Linked DNA regions of Homo sapiens: regions 1, 2 and 3 are each linked to region 4. The links are contacts of gene promoters, found by promoter capture Hi-C in human tissues and cell types (Jung and others, 2019). All regions are on one chromosome and are shown on one strand. The core of a region is centred on a gene start or on the middle of the fragment in contact, and the rest is flanking DNA. Distances in the headings are between cores, read along the strand shown.

Region 1 (5,040 bases), core at 1,391-3,890, 730 kb before region 4:
GAAAGGGCATCATGGTTGCAGAGGAAGGGAAGGAAGCCCACGGCTGCCTTGGGGAGCTTTCTGAAAGGCAGGTCTGATCATGCCTCTCTGGGCTACGGTCTCCTCACGGTGGCTCCTGGTTGGAACTGAAGTGGTCCCCTTGGTCCCTCTCTCCCATCTCAGCATTAGCCAGGACTTCTGGCTTGGCAGCCCCAGCAGGCTGCCCCTTGCAACACCTCTTTTCCACATGATCGTGCCTTCCAAACCTACTTCCAGCGTCGCCCTCTTCAGGGAGCCTTTCATAACCACCTCCCCCTTCCACTGGCTAAAGATGAGGTTGAGCAACTGCAGGACTTGGGACCTTGTTCCTGCCCCTGTGGCTGCCTGGATCCAACTGTGTGGTAATGTCTCTGCTTCTAGGTGACTCCCCTGCTAGACCGAGAGGCCTGGGAGAGCTAACATGGACCATGGGTGGTGCTGAGCCTGTCTCATGCATCTGCTCAGCAAATCTGCACAATAACTCCATAAAAGCCTCTTTTGACCAGTGAGGAAAGTGAGGCTCAGACAGGAGAAGGTGCCTGTCCCAGGTCACACAGCTGAGCAGCAGGGATGGGTTTTGAGCTCACCCCTAACACCACAGCCATGGCGCCAATGGACACCCTATGCCCGGCATAGGGCAGGGTGCATGCTAGGTGCTCATGAAATGTTTGCTGAAGGAATAAGCAAGCCAAGACAGGCAGCCCACTGGCACCTCTGGGGAGGCAGTGGCCAGGGTGGAAGCAAGACTCATTCCACCAGGACTCATTCCACCGCACCACCCAGCCCCTGGCGTGCTCTAAGACGGGTGTCTTCCCTCCTTCCAAGAAGGCGGGGGAGGGAAGCCCAGCACTGGGTCTCACCAGTTGTTGACTTTGGGTGGCTTCCAGAGCAGGCACCCACTCAAGGGACTTCAGGAAAGTGCTGGGGGTGGGGTGGGGCGGGAAGGGGCAGCCATTTCACCTCTTCACTCTCAGCTGCTTTAGGGCTCACCCCTGCCCGCCTCACCTAGGACCTGACACCCATGTTTGTTTCTCTCACTGATCAATGTTGGGCTTCACATTGTTGGACCGGTTCTTGTTGCTTCCACATGCAACAGGCCAGGCAGCCACCTGCCTTGCACCTGGGATGGACTTAGGAGAAGGCAGAGGACCATTTCTAAAAGGTGGGGACAATCCCTTCTTAAAGTTTTCTCAGATCCTCTGGGGAAGATGCCTGGGTTCTAGTTTATGTCCAGCTCCCTGGTGTCTCTGGTCCATTTGTCACCCCTCCTCAGGGAAACCCTCTCTCATCCTCGGGCTGAGGCTGACTGTCTGTATAACACACTCGCCCCTCAACACCACTGCAATTGACATTTATTTGTGTTTTTGGAGATGGGTATCCATCTCCCCTACCAGCCTGTGAACACCGTAAGAACACAGATTGTTGAGCCCTGGCACATGACTCACACCTGTAATCCCAGCACTTTGGGAGGCTAAGACAGGTGGATCACTCGAGGTCAAGAGTTCGAGACCAGCCTGGTCAACATGGTGAAACCCTGCCTCTACTAAAAATACAAAATTTAGCTCGGCGTAGTGGCAGGTGCCTGTAATCCCAGCTACTTGGGAGGCTGAGGCAGGAAAATTGCTTGAACCCGGGAGGCGGAGGTTGCAGTGAGTGGAGATTGCACCACTACACTCCAGACTGGACGACTGAGCATGACACTATCTCAAAAACAAAACAAAAAAAAAGGGACTGTTTTTTGCTAAACACAAATCGACCCCAGGCTTAGTACCCTGCCCGGCATTAGTAGGTGCTCCCCAGATATCAGCTGAATAAACGAATGATTCTGGATCGGACTCCTAGACTTGCTACTTCTCTGTGACCATTGTGACCTTGGTCAGGTTGCTTCACCTCTCCATGCCTCAGTTTCTCCCTCTATAAAACGGCACTCGTGATCACCACTCACCTCACCTAATCCTTGTAACTCACTATCACAATGAACGTGGAGAAATTCCTACTGAGAGAAAGTGCACGATAAACAGAAGCTGTAACGCCCTGAGAAGGCGGGACTGGCTCGAGAGCACCCAGTCCCCGCCACGCCTCGCCACCCCCGGCCAAGGGTCGCGCAGCCCCTGGACGCCCTGCCTGGCTCCGAGGCCGGCTGCGGCCCCGCTTCTGGGTCCTCCACCGAGGCCCGAGCCCCCGGCCCCGGCGCCGGGGAGCAGAGGGCGGTGCAGTCAGTTACCTGGCAACGCGGTGGCTGCAGCCCACCGCGTTACGTAGCAACAGGGCGGGGATTACCCACTTAAGACCCCCGCCCGGTTACCCAGAAACAGGATGGGGCTCTCAGGTGAGGTCTACCGGCCTCTCTGCCTCACACCAGGATGGGGCTCATAAGCCGGTTACCTAGCAACAGGGTGGGTCCCCGCGGGCGGAGGCCCCTGCCGGTTGCCTGGCAACAGGGAGGGTGGGGAGCCCTCAGTACCTTGCCCTTCAGGTCCAGCACGTAGACGGCGCTGGCGGACATGATGGCTGCAGGAGGCCTCGGCAGCGGCCGAGGGCGGTGGCGGCGGCAGCGACGGTGGGGACTGCTGGGCGTTGAGCAAGGCCGGGCGCCGCCCGCGACAGCTCACCTCCACTTCCGGTTCGGGGAGCCGCGCGGGGACCGTTATGTCCGGTCCGGGAGGTGCTGTCAGGAATGCGCAGGCGCAGGACGGACTGTGCGCAGGCGCATTACGTCGTATGTAACCATGTTTCTTGCTCCCGCCAGAAGCATCCCGGAAGTAAGGCCCGGTGGGGCGGGGCCGACCAAATCAGGGCACCCAGTGGCCGCTGCCAGGCTGAGCTATGGAGCCAGAGCAGCTGGAAACGGCCTCCCGTGGGCCGAGTTAGGCGAGAGAGCCTGGTGGTGAAACCGACCTGGGGCCCAGCCCTATGGAGCTCACAGTCTGGTGGGGAAGTCTATGAAACAAGTGTACAGTCACCAATTGTGATAAGCTCAAAAGAGAGAGGTAAGGTCGTGGTTACTTGGAAAGAGGTCAAACAAACTTTCTGAATGGCAATCAAACCTTATCAACAGTCACCACCTGTCATTGTCAACATTTATCAATGAATGAGTGTGCCTGTTTATTGCCTGGAATGTTATGAAAACCAGCCTCACTGAACCTTGACCCAACATACCGTGTTTCATTTCTGCAAAGTTAGTAATCAGTAATGCAACTGGTGGCCCTTGATTAATCCATTGAGTCATATTTAATTTGCTTTTATGAACTCTTGGGCTTTGGAGAAATGCCTGCATTCTGTTCCAGTTAGCCATCATAGTACCCTGGGGATCCCAACCCTGCAATACCAGAGTGATTTACCCAGGATGCCTGCCTCTCACATCTTTTATTTTCTGTCTTATCTCCGTTTTGGCGTTTGGAAAGATGATTTTTGCAACTCGGTAATTATATAGTGTTTTGCTTAGGAAAGAAATGTGACCGAAACTCTAGAGAAGCAAACTAGAATGTTTGAAGACTGCTAAGTGACTCCTGGGCTGGAAGGATTCTTGCTCAAGGCACAGAGCAAGCAGCCAAGAGAGGGTTTTTGTTGTTTGCTTTTTTTTTTTTTTTTTTTTTTGAGATGGAGTCTCACTCTGTCACCCAGGCTGGAGTGCAATGGCATGATCTCGGCTCACTGCAACCTCTGCCTCCTGGGTTCAAGTGATTCTCTTGTGTGTCAGCCTCTCAAGTGGCTGGGATTACAGGCATGTGCCACCACACCTAGCTAATTTTTGTATTTTTAGTAGAGACGTGGTTTCACCATGTTGGCCAGGCTTGTCTCAAACTCCTGACCTCACGTGATCCACCCACCTCGGCCTCCCAAAGTGCTGGGATTACAAGGGTTAAGTTAAATATTAAAAGATAAGAGAGCCAGTGCCCTTATACAAAGGCTGGGATGTAACAAAAGCCCACCCAGAGTTGTGCCTAGGCCTTTCCTGGGCCTTGAAGCATGACAAGATAATGAAGGAATTCTTAACAGGACCCTTTTAGGATTAAACAAGCTTTATTGGCGGTCTGAAGAAACTCCTCAGGCCTCCACAAACAAGTTTATTGGGGTTTGAAGGAACTCCCCCAAACCTCCATGATTTAGCAGGAGATAAGATAAGGGTAATCACCCCAGCACCTGGACCCACTTAGATTAAGTAAATTTACTGAGGCTCCAGAGGAAGGTCTTCAGGACTCAGATCTTAGTTATGGGTTAAAAGACTATAACTTACTTACGTCTTTAGATGAATGCACACCTACACGTAGACATATAGCTTAGAAGGTATATGAGCTCTGGAAGACTTTGTAATTTTGGGTTGGTCTGGTGATATTTTCCAGGCCTTCTCCCTGTAACCAGTTACAGAAATAAAAACTCTCTTCCTCCCTAGTTCATCTGTGTCTCATTATTGGGCTGTGAGATATAGAAGCCCAACCCTCAGTTTGGTCTGGGAATAGGTTAGGAGTGGGGGTCTCAAAAGCCCCCCCAATACAACACACACAATAAGAACCACTGAGGCCTGAAAGCCATGTATAGAGATTTTGTTTTAATTGGTCTGGGCCAGGGTTTGGTTATTGGGATTTTTCTTTTTTTTAATTTTTTTTTTGAGACAGAGTCTCACTCTGTCACCAGGCTGGCATGCAGTGACACGATCTCGGCTCACTGCAACCTCTGCCTTCCAGGTTCAAGTGATTCTCCTGCCTCAGCCTCCCAAGTAGCTGGAACTATAGGTGCCTGCCACCATGCCCAGCTAATTTTTGTATTTTTAGTAGAGACGGGGTTTCACCATGTTGGCTAGGATGGTCTTGATCTCTTGACCTTGTGATCCGCCCGCCCCACCTCCCAAAGTGCTGGGATTACAGGTGTGAGTCACCGCGCCTGGCCTTCTTTTCCTTTCTTTTTTTTTTTTTTTGAGGCACGGTCTTATCCTGTCACCAGGCTGGAGTGCACTGGTGCAATCTCGGCTCACTGCAACCTTCACCTCCTTGGCTCAGCTGGGACTACAGATGCACACCATCA
Region 2 (4,686 bases), core at 483-2,982, 890 kb after region 4:
TCGCTTGAAACCAGAAGGCGGAGGTTGCGGTGAGCCGAGATCACACCACTGCACTCCAGCCTGGGCAACAAGAGTGAAACTCTGTCTCAAAAAAAAAAAAAAAAAAGAAAGAAAAAGAAAAGTCTCTATTGCCAGTTGTCTATTCTCAATAGCTTGCTTTTTTCACTTAATATATCAGCAGCCACTTCCCCATGTCAACACATAAAGATCTAGTTGAGTAATTCTCCCAAAGCTGGTCACTAGACCAGCAACATCACATCACCTGGGAATTTTTATAGACAGGGTCTCACTCTGTTGCCTAGGCTGGAGTGCAGTGATGGGATCACGGCTCACTGCAGCCTGGAACTCCTGGGCTCAAGTTATCCTCCTGCCTCAGCCTCCCGAGTAGCTGGGACTACAAGCGTGCACCACCACACCCAGCTTTTTTTTTTTTTTTTTTTTTTGTAGAGATAGAGTCTCCCTATATTGCCCAGGCTGGTCTCAAACTCCTGAGTTCAGGCGATCCTCCCATCTCAGCTTCCCAAAGCTCTGAGATTACAGGTGTGAGCCACTGCCCTGGCCCATATTTTTTTTTTTCCATTAGACTGTTTTTCTGTTCCATTAGACTGTAAGCTTGAAAGACAGGAACCACGTCTGCCTTTCTGTCTGACCACTGGACCCAGCATACCATACAGTAGATGCCTAATACATGCTTTGTCAGACTGGGGAAAAATATATATTAGATATTAATATTAGATATTAATATATTTTAAAATTGTATAAAGATTGCATATATATATATAATTTATTTGAAATTTCAGCTTTAAATAATTGTTTTTGACCAGGCACAGTGGCTTACGCCCATAATCCCAACACTTTGAGAGGCTGAGGCGGGAGGATCCCTGGAGCCCAAGAGTTCAAGGTTGCAGTGAGCTATGATTGTGCCACTGTGCTCCAGCCTGGGCGACAGAATGAGACCCTATCTCAAAAAATAATAATATAATAATAACTGTATTTATGAATAACTTTTATTTAAATTAAATTTATCAAAATCTTTCTTGGACAGGCACTGTGGCTCATGCCCGTAATCCCAGCAATTTGGGAGGCTGAGGCGGGGGAATCACTTGAGGTCAGGGGTTCGAGACCAGCCTGGCCAACTGGCGAAACCCCGTCTCTACTAAAAATACAAAAATTAGCTGGGGGTGGTGGCGGGCGCCTGTAATCCCAGCTACTCAGGAGGCTGAGGCAAGAGAATTTGAGCCCAGGAGGTGGAGGCTGCAGTGAGCCGAGATCGCGCCAATACACTCCAGTCTGGGCGACAGGTACTGTGTCTCCAAAAACAAAAAATTCTTAAAGTGACTTTATGCAAAATTACATACATTAACGATATAATAGATATCGTGCCTTTTTTAAGAGAAATTTGAATGTTTTCAAAGAAAAAACTTTTTGGAAAATGATATGAAAAATAATTTTAATATGTGCTTTAGCCTCGGGCTACCAGAAGAGCCCCAGATAGGGTCGAGGGAGGCCTCAGTCCCACACCGTCCCCTTCTGCCCCGCCCAGATGGATTTCCAGGCTCAGGGAAGTCCCCTCTCGGGTCCAACCATATCCTGCGAAGAGACACAGCACCTGTCCCGCCTCCGCCTGTCCGCGAGGTGACGCCAGGCGGACCGGAGCGATCCTCTGGAGTCCTTCATCTCTATGATCTCCGCAGCTGCCTAAATGACCCGGAAGCTGTGTCTGACTGAGGGGTCAGTGGTTCCGGGTAGGAGCTAGGTGACCCTCGGCTGCTGCAGGGATCTGCAGCGACTGCAGCCATGGGGGCCCACCTGGTCCGGCGCTACCTGGGCGATGCCTCGGTGGAGCCCGACCCCCTGCAGATGCCAACCTTCCCGCCAGACTACGGCTTCCCCGAACGCAAGGAGCGCGGTGAGGCCCAGTGCGCAGGCGCAGCCAGAGGGCGTGGGGCGCGGGTGCCTGAACACCTGGCACCCCAGGGCTGGCACCCCAGGGCTGGGCTCTAACCTCAGGTGTTGTATCTGGGTTTGGGTCTAGACTAGGAGTCCACAGGACGTGCATGACCCCACCTCAGTGTGGAGGCGTTCCAGCCCAAGGGCACGGCTTGAGCAAAAGCCAGGGAGCAAAAGTGAGGCGACAAGTGGGGGTTCGGGCAGGAATGCGACGCGCAGAGCTGGGTCGAGTCTTTTTTTTTTTTCTTTTGAGACGGAGTCTCGCTTTTTCTTTCAGGCTGGAGTGCAGTGGCTTGGTCTCGATTCACTGGCAGCCTCCACCTCCCGGGTTCAAGCGATTCTCCTGCCTCAGCCTCGCGAGTAGCTGTGATTACAGATGTGTACCACCATGCCCAGCTACTTTTTTGTATTGTTAGTAGAGACGGGGTTTCTCCTTGTTGGCCAGGCTGCTCTTGAACTCCTGACCTCAAGTGATCCGCCCGCCTCGGCCTCCCCAAGTGCTGGGATCGCAGAAGTCAGTCACCACGCCCGGCCTCGGGCCAAGTCTTGGGGGACGTGGGGAGTCATGGGAGGGCAGGGACACGTTCATTGTACCCCCTTCCTGATGTCACTGCAATTGTGGGGTATGCACAAGGAAATAAGGAAGATTCGAGCTGCAAATACTGTCCTGCAAAGTGCTTTGTTTTGCTTTGAGACGGGATCTTGCTCTGTTGCCCAGGCTGAGTGTAGTGGCACAATCACAGCTCATTGCATCCTCGACCTCCTGGGCTCAAATGATCCTCCCGCCTCAGCCTCCCGAGTAGCTGGGACTACAGGAGCGCCCCAGGATGCCAGACTGATTTTTTATTTTTTGTAGAGTTGGGGGTCTTGCTGTGTTGCCCAGGCTGGTCTCAAACTCCTGGGCTCAAACGATCCTTCTGCCCAGCCTCCCAAAGTGCTGGGATTGAAGATGTGAGCCACTACGCCCAGGATGGTTTTTTGGTTCGTGTGTTTGTTTTTGCTTTTAATGTAGTAATATCACAGGCATACCGAGCACCAGCTCTGGGCCACGTCCCACATTAGGCACCGCGGATACAGCAGGGAACTGGAGGGATGCAGGCACTGTCTCCAGAGAACTCAGCACAGTGGGAAAGATTGTGGAATCAGGCAGAGCTGGGGGTGTCAAAGCAGGCTTCCAAGAGGCAGTGGCTGGAAACAAAGACGTGAAGGGTGGCCGGTCGTGGTGGCTCATGCCTGTAATCCCAGCACTTTGGGAGGCTAAGGCGGGCAGATCACCTGGGGTCAGGAGTTTGAGACCAGCCTGGCCAACATGGTGAAACACCATCTCTACTAAAAATATAAAAATTGAGGCCGGGCATGGTGTCTCACACCCATAATCCCAGCACTTTGGGAGGCCGAGGCGGGCAGATCACGAGGTCAGGGGATTGAGACCATCCTGGCCAATGTGGTGAAACCCTGTCTCTACTAAAAATACAAAAATTAGCCAGGGGCGTGGTGGTGCACACCTGTAGTCCCAGCTACTCAGGAGGCTGAGGCAGGAGAATCGCTTGAACCCAGGAGGCAGAGGTTATAGTGAGCCGAGATCACACCACTGCACTCCAGCCTGGGCGACAGAGCAAGACTCCATCTCAAAAACAAAATACAAAAATTAAGCCGGGCACGGTGGCTTATGCCTGTAATCCCAGCACTTTGGGAGGCCAAGGCCGGTGGATCACCTGAGGTCAGGAGTTTGAGACCAGCCTGGCCAACATGGTGAAACCCCGTCTCTACTCTACTAAAAATACAAAAATTAGCCAGGTGTGGTGGCGCATGCCTGTAATCCCAGCTGTCTGGGAGGCTGAGGCAGGAGAATTGGCTGGAACCCAGGAGGCAGAGGTTGCAGTGAACCAAGGTCAGGCCACCACACTCCAGCCTGGGTGACAGAGCGAGACTGTCTGAAAAAACAAAACAAAACAAAACAAAGATGTGAAGGGGCATGAGTAGGGGTTGACCAAAGAGAGGTGGCAGAGCCAAGCTTCTAAGCAGAGGAGGGACACAATCAGTTTTGGTTGGTCAAAAGGTCACACTGTCTACTGAGTGGGCGACAAGCTTGAGACAGAGACCTCTAAGCAGCCTGGATTTGAGAGAAAGTTGGGAGATGGTATAATCACTCCAGTGTCCACACTCCGGGTAGTCCTTCCGCCCCAGCTGAACCTGCAGTTCATTGGTCCGTCCACCTTCCTCCCACTGCCTCACATACCTTGCTTTCCCCAAGATCAGCTTTGCAAACGCTAGCAACCTGCTGCCCTTCTCTCTTGCTTACTCTGGATAAACTCACCTCTTTCCCTTCCTTGGTGCCTATCCCCGTGCAACTGAACATAATGGGGGGCGGGGAGATAAGAAAAAAACAGCTCTAAGCCAGGCAAAATGGCTCATGCCTGTAATCCCAACGGTTTGGGAGGCAAAGGCAGGAGGATTGCTCAAGGCCAGAAGTTCAAGAACAGCCTGGGCAACATAGCAAGGCCCTGTCTCTACAATTTTTTATTTTTATTTTTTAATTAGCTGGGTGTGGTGGCGCATTCCTGCAGTCCCTGCTGACCGGTCTCCCGATTGGTACTCCAGTGGACTCTTTATGGTGCCTGGCCTTTCTCTTACCTCCCGGATCCTTCACTCTCTCCCTCCCTCCTAGATCACTGTCCCCTGCCCTCTCTTTCCTCCTTTCCACCCCCTTTCAGCCAGTCACTTTGCTCACTGCAA
Region 3 (4,448 bases), core at 1,779-4,278, 660 kb before region 4:
GGGCCTTCCACGCCAGGCAAGGAGTCTAGCCTTTGTCTTCACGTCAGCATAGAGACTTTAGGTCGGGAGTGATATGGAAGATCCGCCTTGGAAACATGACTAGGATGGGGAAACATCACAGGATCGGCCGCAGGGCTGGGGTCGCCCCGTGGAGAGGGGAGGGTGGCATGGGCCCAGGTCCCATCAGGGCTCCCTGCTATGTCTGGGCTTTTTTGACAGGGGCCTCTCCAGGGTGAGTGGTGTGGCTGAGAGGGTAAACACAGAGCTGGGTCTTTCTGAGCCTTAGTTTCCTCACCTGTAAAACCGTGCCTATTCCCCAGGGCTGCCCAAGAGCCCGTGAGATGCGTCCTAGGTGCCCTTTGTGGTGCCTGTCCCTGCTGATGGCACATTCCCAGGGGCTGCCTGTGCTTGGCACGTGGCACTGCCCAGGAAATGTCCCTCAGAGGACTGACTGGCAGCCCTGAGCCCGAGGCTGGTCCGTCTGGCAGGACCTCCTCGGAGGACGCCAGCTCCCCCTTTAGCCTGAAGGGGCCGATCCTGCAGGCCCCATGTCTCCCAGCAGGGCCCGGGACTCACATTTTCCACATTGATGTTGGCCTTCGCGCTGGTCTCCATGAACTTGATTCCATAGTCGAGGGCCAGCTGTGAGAGAGGGAGGCACACGCATGAGCACACCAGCCGCCGGGCGCATCTGAGCTTGCCTAAAACAGGAGCTGAAGGCAGGGCCGGCGCCAAGAGGGAGCAGCAACAGGGCTGGGGCTGTGGGCGTGACTTCCTGGATCACTCCCTCAATTCTATAGTGAATGCCCCTCCACAGGGCCTCACAGGGCATGGAGTTGCTGGGGATGGCAGCTGAGATGGGAGGGTGGCGGGGACCTGCTGGGATCAAACTATGGCTCTGTTCCCCGCTCCTGTGGTCTTGAAAGTCTGGAGCGGGGCCATGGTAGGTTTTGATGAGATGCCCGCAGAGTGCACCCAAGAAGCCCCGGCTGGGTGTGTGCTTCTGTCATCCCATGGCACGTGCCCCACTGGGGTGACCAACTCGTCTCAGGCCCCTGGGGCAGAGGAGGGACAGGGGAAGGCCTCTGCACAAGAACCCCAAGACCCCGAGGCCCTCTGCCCCTTGTGCCACCATGCCCACCTTTTCTCCCCGTTCCTTGGAAACTTGTCTCTTGTCATTCACATCACACTTGTTCCCGAGTATCATCTTTTCGACGTCTGCAGAGGCGTGCTGAGAGGGAGGGGGACAGACGGGGGATCAGACCGGATGACACAGGCCAGGTGCCTCTGCCAACACACAGTCTGTCCCCAGAAATCAGAGCGGTGGGGTCAGGACTGCTAGGTACAGCCTGGTCTAAGGGACAAGCTGAAGCTCAGAGAGGCCAAGCAGCCGGCCCCATGTCACACAGCCAATGCCAGGGCTGGGGCCAGGGTTCTAGCTGCTACTCTGAGCAAATGCACATTTTCTGAAATGCTTTCTGGCAGCTTCTATGGCTGTATCAATCAAGCCCCCGCACCTGGGATGCTGGGCGGGTCTAGCCTATGGGAGGTGAGTGAGGCTGAGATATTTACCCCCCGACCTTGGCTTTCCTCCTTCCCTCCCTGGCTCCTCTGCAAGAGGCCCCAGCTGTTGTCCTGGGACCTTCTGCTTTGACACTTTTTTTTTTGTTTTTTTTTGAGATGGAGTCTCGTTCTGTCTCCCAGGCTGGAGTGTAGTGGCATGATCTCGGCTCACTGCAACCTCTGCCTTCAGGTTCAAGCGATCCTCAACCTCCCGAATAGCTGAGATTACAGGCATCTGCCACCATACCAGGCTAATTTTTTGTATTTTTAGTAGAGACAGAGTTTCGCCATGTTGGCTAGGCTGGTCTCAAACTTCTGACCTCAGGTGATCTGCCCGCCTCAGCCTCCCAAACTGCTGGGATTACAGGCATAAGCCACCTCGCCTGGCCCTGACATTTCAACTATTTTTGGGCTCCAGAAACAGGCCGTGCCTGAGGTGGTCGCAACTCGAGGCCGTCACCAGCTGCAGGCACTTCACCACCCTGTCTGATGTTGCCCAAACTCTGCCCTCATACCCAAAGGCAGCTCCTTCGTCAAGTCTCCCTGGGTCCCCATGGAGCGGACCACGCTTCCTGGAGGACGGGGACACTGGAAACTGCTGTCTTCTTCCACCAGCTCAGACTTGGTCTCTGGAACCTACTGCGCCACTCCCTGCCTCACTTCCCATGAACCAGAAGGTGGCTCCTGCCCGCTGGCCAGAAACAGAGACCTTTCACAAAGACCAGGCTCTCCTCCTCTCCACGGATGAAGACAGCTTTCCCAGCTGGGGTGCAGCCCTGCACTGGCAAATTTGGCAGCACAGCCCTCTCAGGGTCACTGGGGAGGTGAGCCCAGTGCAATGACTCACAAATGATGGGGTGGCCTCTCGGCCTGGCCTGGGAGGTCCATGAGTCCTGGGTGGACAGTGATATGCCCTTTTGCTGTGGTTTTATAGATGGGAAAAGTTCTCTGGCTGTGCCTCAGACCTGAAGCCCCACATGGTTAGTTATAGAAAGCTGCAGGTGCCGGCAGCCAGGAAGGCTTTGGGGGTGAGGTCAGCTCTTTGGGGAGCAGAAGATGAAGATGCTGGCTTTGGGAGGGGAGGAGGGGTTGGCCTACTTCTCACTGCTCTATGGTTCAAGGTCTGAACACAGGTCGTTTGTACCAGGTCACACCCTGCTCCGATATAGCTCAAAGTACAACTGACGCCTGCTCACCACACCCTCCAACTACAAGGGTCACACCTGTGCTAGACCCTTCCTTCTCTAGAAAGCACCCAACACTCATGGTGACCACAAGCTTGGATATCCTTTCTCTTATAACCATGACACTGGCCAGATCCAACAGCCTAGCTGGAGGGATGGGCTCCGAGGGGCTCCGGGGTGGGGCCAGGCCAGTGTGTGGTCCCTGGGGCCGGCTGCTTGCATCTCAGTCCCTGCTCCCACCATGTCCCTGACTAGGAGGCTGTGGGCAAGTGGCCTGTATGTGTCTCTGCACCTTGGCCTTCTCATGAGTAAACCAGAGGGCTCTGGGACAAGGACTGAAGCAGGGACAGTGGGAGGAGCCGGAGGGCCTCACCTCCTCAATGTTGCGAATCCAGTTCCGGATGTTGTCGAAGGACTTCTCGTTGGTGATGTCGTAGACCAGCATGATGCCCTGCGCGGGGAGAGAAGACACAGGTGCCTGATCGGCTGCAGGCTCTGGAAGGGAGGCCTCAGCGGCACCAGAGAACAGTGGTGGGGAGCCCAGCACCCACTGCACAGCCAGGCCCATTAGCTGCCGCCCTCCCCACCTCTGTGGAGCCCCGGAAGCCAGCCCCCTCCTCTCCATCCCTGTGGCCCTTCTTTCTGCTGGGTTCTGGCACCAGCCTTGTCCTGCCCCCCGGGCCGCTGAGGTGACCCTTCTGCCTCACAGGCCAGCCCCTGCCACGCACTCGCTGACAAGCCCGGCTGGCTCCCCTCATGGCCCACGGGGTGGTGCAGCCTGACGGTGGGAGCCGGTCCACAGGCCCACTGCCAGCAGCACTCCCCTCACGCTGACCCTCCCCTGCAATCGGCCTCCTCTTCACCCCTTGCTCACCCCACGCTCTGCCTGAGCCACCTACCAGGCACAACTGAGCCCAGGAAGTCCTGACCCGACATCCACACAACTTCCAGTGACCCCACCACAGAGGGAACCGGCTGTGTGAAGATGGAGCCGAGAGTGCCAAGGCCCTTCCAGTTCCCTAACCTAGACGTGAGCAACTGGGAGACGGCTCGTGGGTCCTGGAAGAGCTTCGGGGCAGCCCCGCCTCAGCCTGGGTCCACAGCCTCGCTACTGCTGTGGACAAGCGCAAACATGCCCATGCGATGCAAGGGGAAACTGAGGCACAGAGACGTGACCTTTAAGATTCAAGCACGGGGGGCGGGGGGGGGCTAACTCCAAAAGCACTGATGACACCTATCCTCTCAGCAATATCCCTGGGCCTTTTTCAGCCCCAGAACCCACATGTGGGGGCCACCCTCTGACGGTCTGTGTGGTTCTCGATGTCCTTGTGGAGTGCCCACAGCGGGCCAGCCTGCAGTGCCATCACAAGTCCCCCTTTGTTGCCGGGCATCCTGGGCTCCAAGGCACGTGGCCTGCTCATGGCCAGGCCTGGATTTCTTCCTTCCTCCTCGCTACCTGCTCCCCAGGCCCAGCCCTGCATCTGTGGCACCTGAGGGCACTGATGACTTCTGCTGCTGGCCAAGTTGTCTGGGGCCATCCAAGTTTGCAGAATAAGGACACGGGCCATGTGGTAATGGTGAGACAGATGTGGGTGCAAGAGTGTGGGACAAAAACGACACAGATGGGGCAAGAAAGTCACTGCAACCCCAAATCCTCCTGGGAATTCAGGGACATGAATAATGGCCTCACAGTCAGCCGCA
Region 4 (4,392 bases), core at 926-3,425:
TTCAAGGTTGCAGTGACCCACAATCATGCCTGGGAATAGCCACTGTACTCCTGCCTGGGTGACAGAACAAGGCTTCGTCTCTCTGGGCACAGAGGCTGATGCTATTCCTGTATTCCCAGCACTTTGGGAGGCTGAGGCATGAGGATTGCTTGAGCCCAGGAGTTCAAGACAAGCATGGGCAACATAGTGAGGCCCCATCTCTACAAAAAACAAACAAACAAAAAGTTAAAAATTAGTCAGGTAGCATGCACCTGTAGTCCCAGCTACTCGAGAGCCTGAGGTAGGAGGATCGCTTGAGCCCAGGAGGTTGAGAATGCAGTGAGCTGTGATTGTGCCACTGCACTCCAGCTTGGCCAACAGAGCAAGACCCTGTCTCAAAAAAAAATCTTATTAAAAAAAAAAGAACATGCTAAATTTGTGTTATATGAATTTTACCTCAATTAAAAAAAAAATAGGCCAGGCATGGTAGCATGTGCCTATTATCCCAGCTACTTAGGGGGCTGAGGTGGGAGGATCACTTGAGGCCAGGAGTTCAAGAACAGCCTGGGCAACAAAGCAAGACCCTCATCTCAACAACAACAAAAAAATTGTTTTTAATAAGCCAGGTGTGGTGGCATGCAGCTGTAGTCCCAGCTACTCAGGAGGCTAAGGCGAGAGGATCTCTTGAGCCCAGGAGTTAGAGGTTACAGAGAGCTATGATGGCACCACTGCACTCCAGCCTGGATGACAGACCTCATCTACAAAAAATAATAATATTCATATTATGTATAATGTAATATTATTTATATTACTATGTAATATAAATATTATATTTTTATTTTATGAGATCTATATTATTTTTATAGACCTCATTTATAAATAATAATAATAATAAGGGCCGGGCACGGTGGCTTACGCCTATAATACCAGCACTTTGGGAGGCCAAGGCGGGCAGATCATTTCAGGTCAGGAGTTCAAGACCAGCCTGACCAACATGGTGAAACCCCGTCTCTACTAAAAATACAAAAAAATTAGGCAGGCATGGTGGTGAATACCTGTAGTCCCAGCTACTCAGGAGGCTGAGTAGGGAGAATCACTTGAATCCGGGAGGCAGAGATTGCAGTGAGCCAAGATCGTGCCACTGCACACCAGCCTGGGAGACAGAGCGAAACTCCTTCTCGATAAATAAATCAATTAATAATAATAAGAGTAATAATAAATCTTGCCATCTTCCAGAAGCCCCCCTTGTACCCTCTTCCCAGCCACCAGTGCCTCCAAAAGAAACTGATACCCTGCTTGTTAGACATGGTTTTGCCTGCTTTAGGACTTTATGTAAATGGAATCACAAAGTGTATACTCTTCATTGTTTTGGGGTTTTTAAATTTATTTATTATTGCTTTTTAGAGATGGGGTCTCCCGAGGGCAGGGAGGGGAAAAAGAAAAAAAAAAGTTAGATATGAGGTCTCCCTATGTCACCCAGACTGGAGTGCACTGCCTATTCACAGGCATGATCACAGCTCACTGCAGCCTCGAACTCCTGGCCTCAAGCGATCCTCCTCCCTCAGCCTCCTGAATAGCTCAGATTACTGGCATTTTATGGCTTTGGTTTTGGTTTTGGCTCAACATTGTTTGTGATTCACCCAAGTTAAATCATTCTTTAGTTTGTTCTCACTGCTGTATGATATTCTGCTGTGCGAAGAGATCACAATTTATTCCTTCTCCCACTAATGGGTACTTAGGCTGCTTCCAATGTGGGGCTATTATGCATTGTGCTGGGGGGGCATATCTATTGGACGTCTACCTAGCAATGGAATTGCTGAGTCAGAGAAGATCCAGCTAGTAGTGTTAGTAGATCCTGCCAAACCGTTTCCCAACATGAGTGAATGGGTCTACACTCCGGCCAACTGTGGATTAGAGTTCTAGGTGCTTTGTATTCTCGCCAGCATTTGTTCAGCCTGTACTCATTTTGCAGAGAAGGCAACGGAGGCTCAGAGAGAGGGGCAAGTGCTGCCTCCCCGTCAGGGAGGCAGTCTGGGTCCTTCTTGCTAGAAGCCTGGTAACCCACCTCCTCTCTTCTCCTCCCTCGAACCTCCAGCAACCTGCCCGCACTGTGCCCTCCCAGCCTGGCTGTGGGGTGGGGTGGGACAGAGAGGGTCACGTGGAGTTGGGTTCCGAGGGAGGAAGCCAGGCGGGGTGCAGACGGCTGCTGATTCTGGGGCTGGTCAGGAAACCAAGGTAAGGGAGGGAGTGGAGGTGGGGGCAGGGGGATTCCTGGAGGCAGAGCTGAGGGTGGGGAGGGGGCCGAGATGAGGGCAGTATGTGGACAGACACTGGGCACTACTGTCACTCTCTCGTCCCCCAGGAGACCCCCCCCCCCAACCATGGACCCACCGTCGCCAAGCCGGACCTCCCAAACCCAGCCCACAGCCACCTCTCCGCTGACTTCCTACCGCTGGCACACAGGGGGCGGTGGGGAGAAGGCGGCTGGAGGGTTCCGCTGGGGCCGCTTTGCTGGCTGGGGCAGGGCCCTGAGCCACCAGGAGCCCATGGTCAGCACCCAGCCAGCCCCTCGCTCGATATTCCGTCGGGTCCTATCTGCGCCTCCCAAGGAGTCACGGACCAGTCGCCTTCGACTCTCCAAGGCCCTCTGGGGGAGGCATAAGAACCCACCGCCGGAGCCAGACCCGGAGCCGGAGCAGGAGGCCCCAGGTACATGGTTCCCCCACCCTGAGCTTGGGCCGGGCTGGGAAGCCGGATGCTTGGGTTTTGTCTGCCTCCGGAGCATCAACCATACAGACACAGGAAGTTGTGGGGAGTGCAAAAGCCCAGCAGGAAGCCGCTGGGGCCCAGCTACCCTGTTCCCTCTTTCCCCCTAAAGAGGGTAGGAGGAGTTGCCGGGGTCCTGTGGGCAGAGGGTCCATCTGAGGAAGGAACAGTGAATGTAAACCCGTGATAGTATTGTCCAGAGGCTAAACGGCTCTTGGCCCCAACGGGTCTCTCCTTCAATGGCTCAGGCCCATCCTTTCCTACCTGGATATCCATCTTCAGCCTGCCTCCTACTCTCCTACCTTCTAGCTTCCGTGTCTTTGTTCTGAGCCCTTAAGCCTCAGCCTCTCCATCAGTTCAGTGAGAATAATGATCTCCATTTTGGAGAGTATATAATTTTATTTGCTCATATTCATTCATTTATTCAAGCAGAGGTTTGTTGAGCTTCTATTGTATGTGCCAGGCCCTGATTTAGGCACTGAGGACACACTAGTGAAAGAGACAGATGACCCTCCCTGCCCCATGGAGCTCACAGTGTAGTGGAATTGACAGGAAATCCATCAACAAGAAAATGACAGATGGGCCAGGCATGATGGCTCACACCTGTAATCCCAGCACTTTGGGAGGCCAAGGTGGGTGGATCACCTGAGCTCAGGAGTTCGAGACCAGCCTGGCCAACATGGCAAAACCCTGTTTCTACTAAAAATACAAAAAAAAAAAAGTATCTAGGCATGGTGGCACATACCTGTACTCCCAGCTACTCAGGAGGCTGAGGCAGGATAATCGCTTGAACCCGGGAGGTGGAGGTTGCAGTGAGCTGAGATTGCACTACTGCACTCCCGCCTGGGCGACAGAGGGAGACTCCATCTCAATGGAAGAAAAAAAAAAAAAAGAAAGAAAAAAAATGACAGATGGTGCTAAGTGTCACACAGGGGGATCTAGAAGAGTAATGGATATCACAAGAATTAGGGCTCAGGAATGTAACACTAGCCTAGGGCCCAGCATTTTTTTTATTTTTTTTTTGAGATGGAGTCTCGCTCTGTTGCCCAGGCTGGAGTGCAGTGGCGCGATCTCGGCTCACCGCAAGCTCCGCCTCCTGGGTTCACGCCATTCTCCTGCCTCAGCCTCCTGAGCAGCTGGGACTACAGGAACCCGCCACCATGCCCAGCTAATTGTTGTATTTCTAGTAGAGACAGGGTTTCACTGTGTTAACCAGAATGGTCTCGATCTCCTGACCTCATGATCCGCCCGCCTCAGCCTCCCAAAGTGCTGGGATTACAGGCGTGAGCCACCGCGCCCGGCCCCAGGCCCAACATATTTTAAGTGATCCGTTAATAAGCGGGAGTTATCATTTATTGCTCCTGGTGGTAAAAACAAGGGAACAGACAGGCAATCTGGGAGGGCTAATTCAGCCCTCCTATTTCCTGGAAGCTCATTTAATTCTCACTGCTTATATTCCCATTTTGTTTTTGTTTTTGTTTTTGTTTTGAGACACAGTCTCACTTCCTTGCCCAGGCTGGAGTGCAGTGGCGGAATCTCAGCTCACTGCAACCTCTGCCTCCCAAGTTCAAGAGATTCTCCTGCCTCAGCCTCCTGAGTAACTGGGATTACAGGCATGTGCCACCACGCCTGGCTAATTTTGTATTT

Evidence for each region. The method cuts DNA at HindIII sites, captures the fragments that hold promoters and counts their contacts. A contact is called where the count stands out against the background at its distance.
Region 1: a contact is called between the fragment with the promoter of AP1M1 here and the fragment with the promoter of RASAL3 in region 4, in 1 of the 25 tissues and cell types used here (H1 embryonic stem cells).
Region 2: the fragment with the promoter of NDUFB7 here is called in contact with the fragment with the promoter of RASAL3 in region 4 in 2 of the 25 tissues and cell types used here (dorsolateral prefrontal cortex and thymus).
Region 3: a contact is called between a fragment that was not itself captured here and the fragment with the promoter of RASAL3 in region 4, in 1 of the 25 tissues and cell types used here (aorta).

The regions. Positions count from the first base shown.
Region 1 is chr19:16,195,511-16,200,550 of GRCh38, reverse strand. It overlaps AP1M1 (adaptor related protein complex 1 subunit mu 1), which reads right to left and starts at 2,640. Exons shown (of 12, transcript NM_032493.4): 1 at 2,483-2,640. The coding sequence starts at 2,524. RefSeq lists a silencer at 2,257-2,496. The HindIII fragment of the contact is 7,648 bases long and covers 1-5,040 here.
Region 2 is chr19:14,569,112-14,573,797 of GRCh38, reverse strand. It overlaps NDUFB7 (NADH:ubiquinone oxidoreductase subunit B7), which reads left to right and starts at 1,732. Exons shown (of 3, transcript NM_004146.6): 1 at 1,732-1,909. The coding sequence starts at 1,798. RefSeq lists an enhancer at 1,511-1,800. The HindIII fragment of the contact is 12,939 bases long and covers 1-4,686 here.
Region 3 is chr19:16,124,220-16,128,667 of GRCh38, reverse strand. RAB8A (RAB8A, member RAS oncogene family) reads right to left here. Exons shown (of 8, transcript NM_005370.5): 4 at 3,121-3,198; 5 at 1,142-1,231; 6 at 577-642. HSH2D-AS1 (HSH2D and RAB8A antisense RNA 1) reads left to right here. Exons shown (of 2, transcript NR_199156.1): 2 at 1,681-4,448. Among named protein-coding and RNA genes, the nearest start is that of HSH2D-AS1, 13 kb to the left of the region's middle. The HindIII fragment of the contact is 7,709 bases long and covers 1-4,448 here.
Region 4 is chr19:15,462,327-15,466,718 of GRCh38, reverse strand. It overlaps RASAL3 (RAS protein activator like 3), which reads left to right and starts at 2,175. Exons shown (of 18, transcript NM_022904.3): 1 at 2,175-2,214; 2 at 2,342-2,688. The coding sequence starts at 2,361. RefSeq lists enhancers at 1,832-1,941, 2,582-2,711, 2,812-2,951. The HindIII fragment of the contact is 13,394 bases long and covers 1-4,392 here.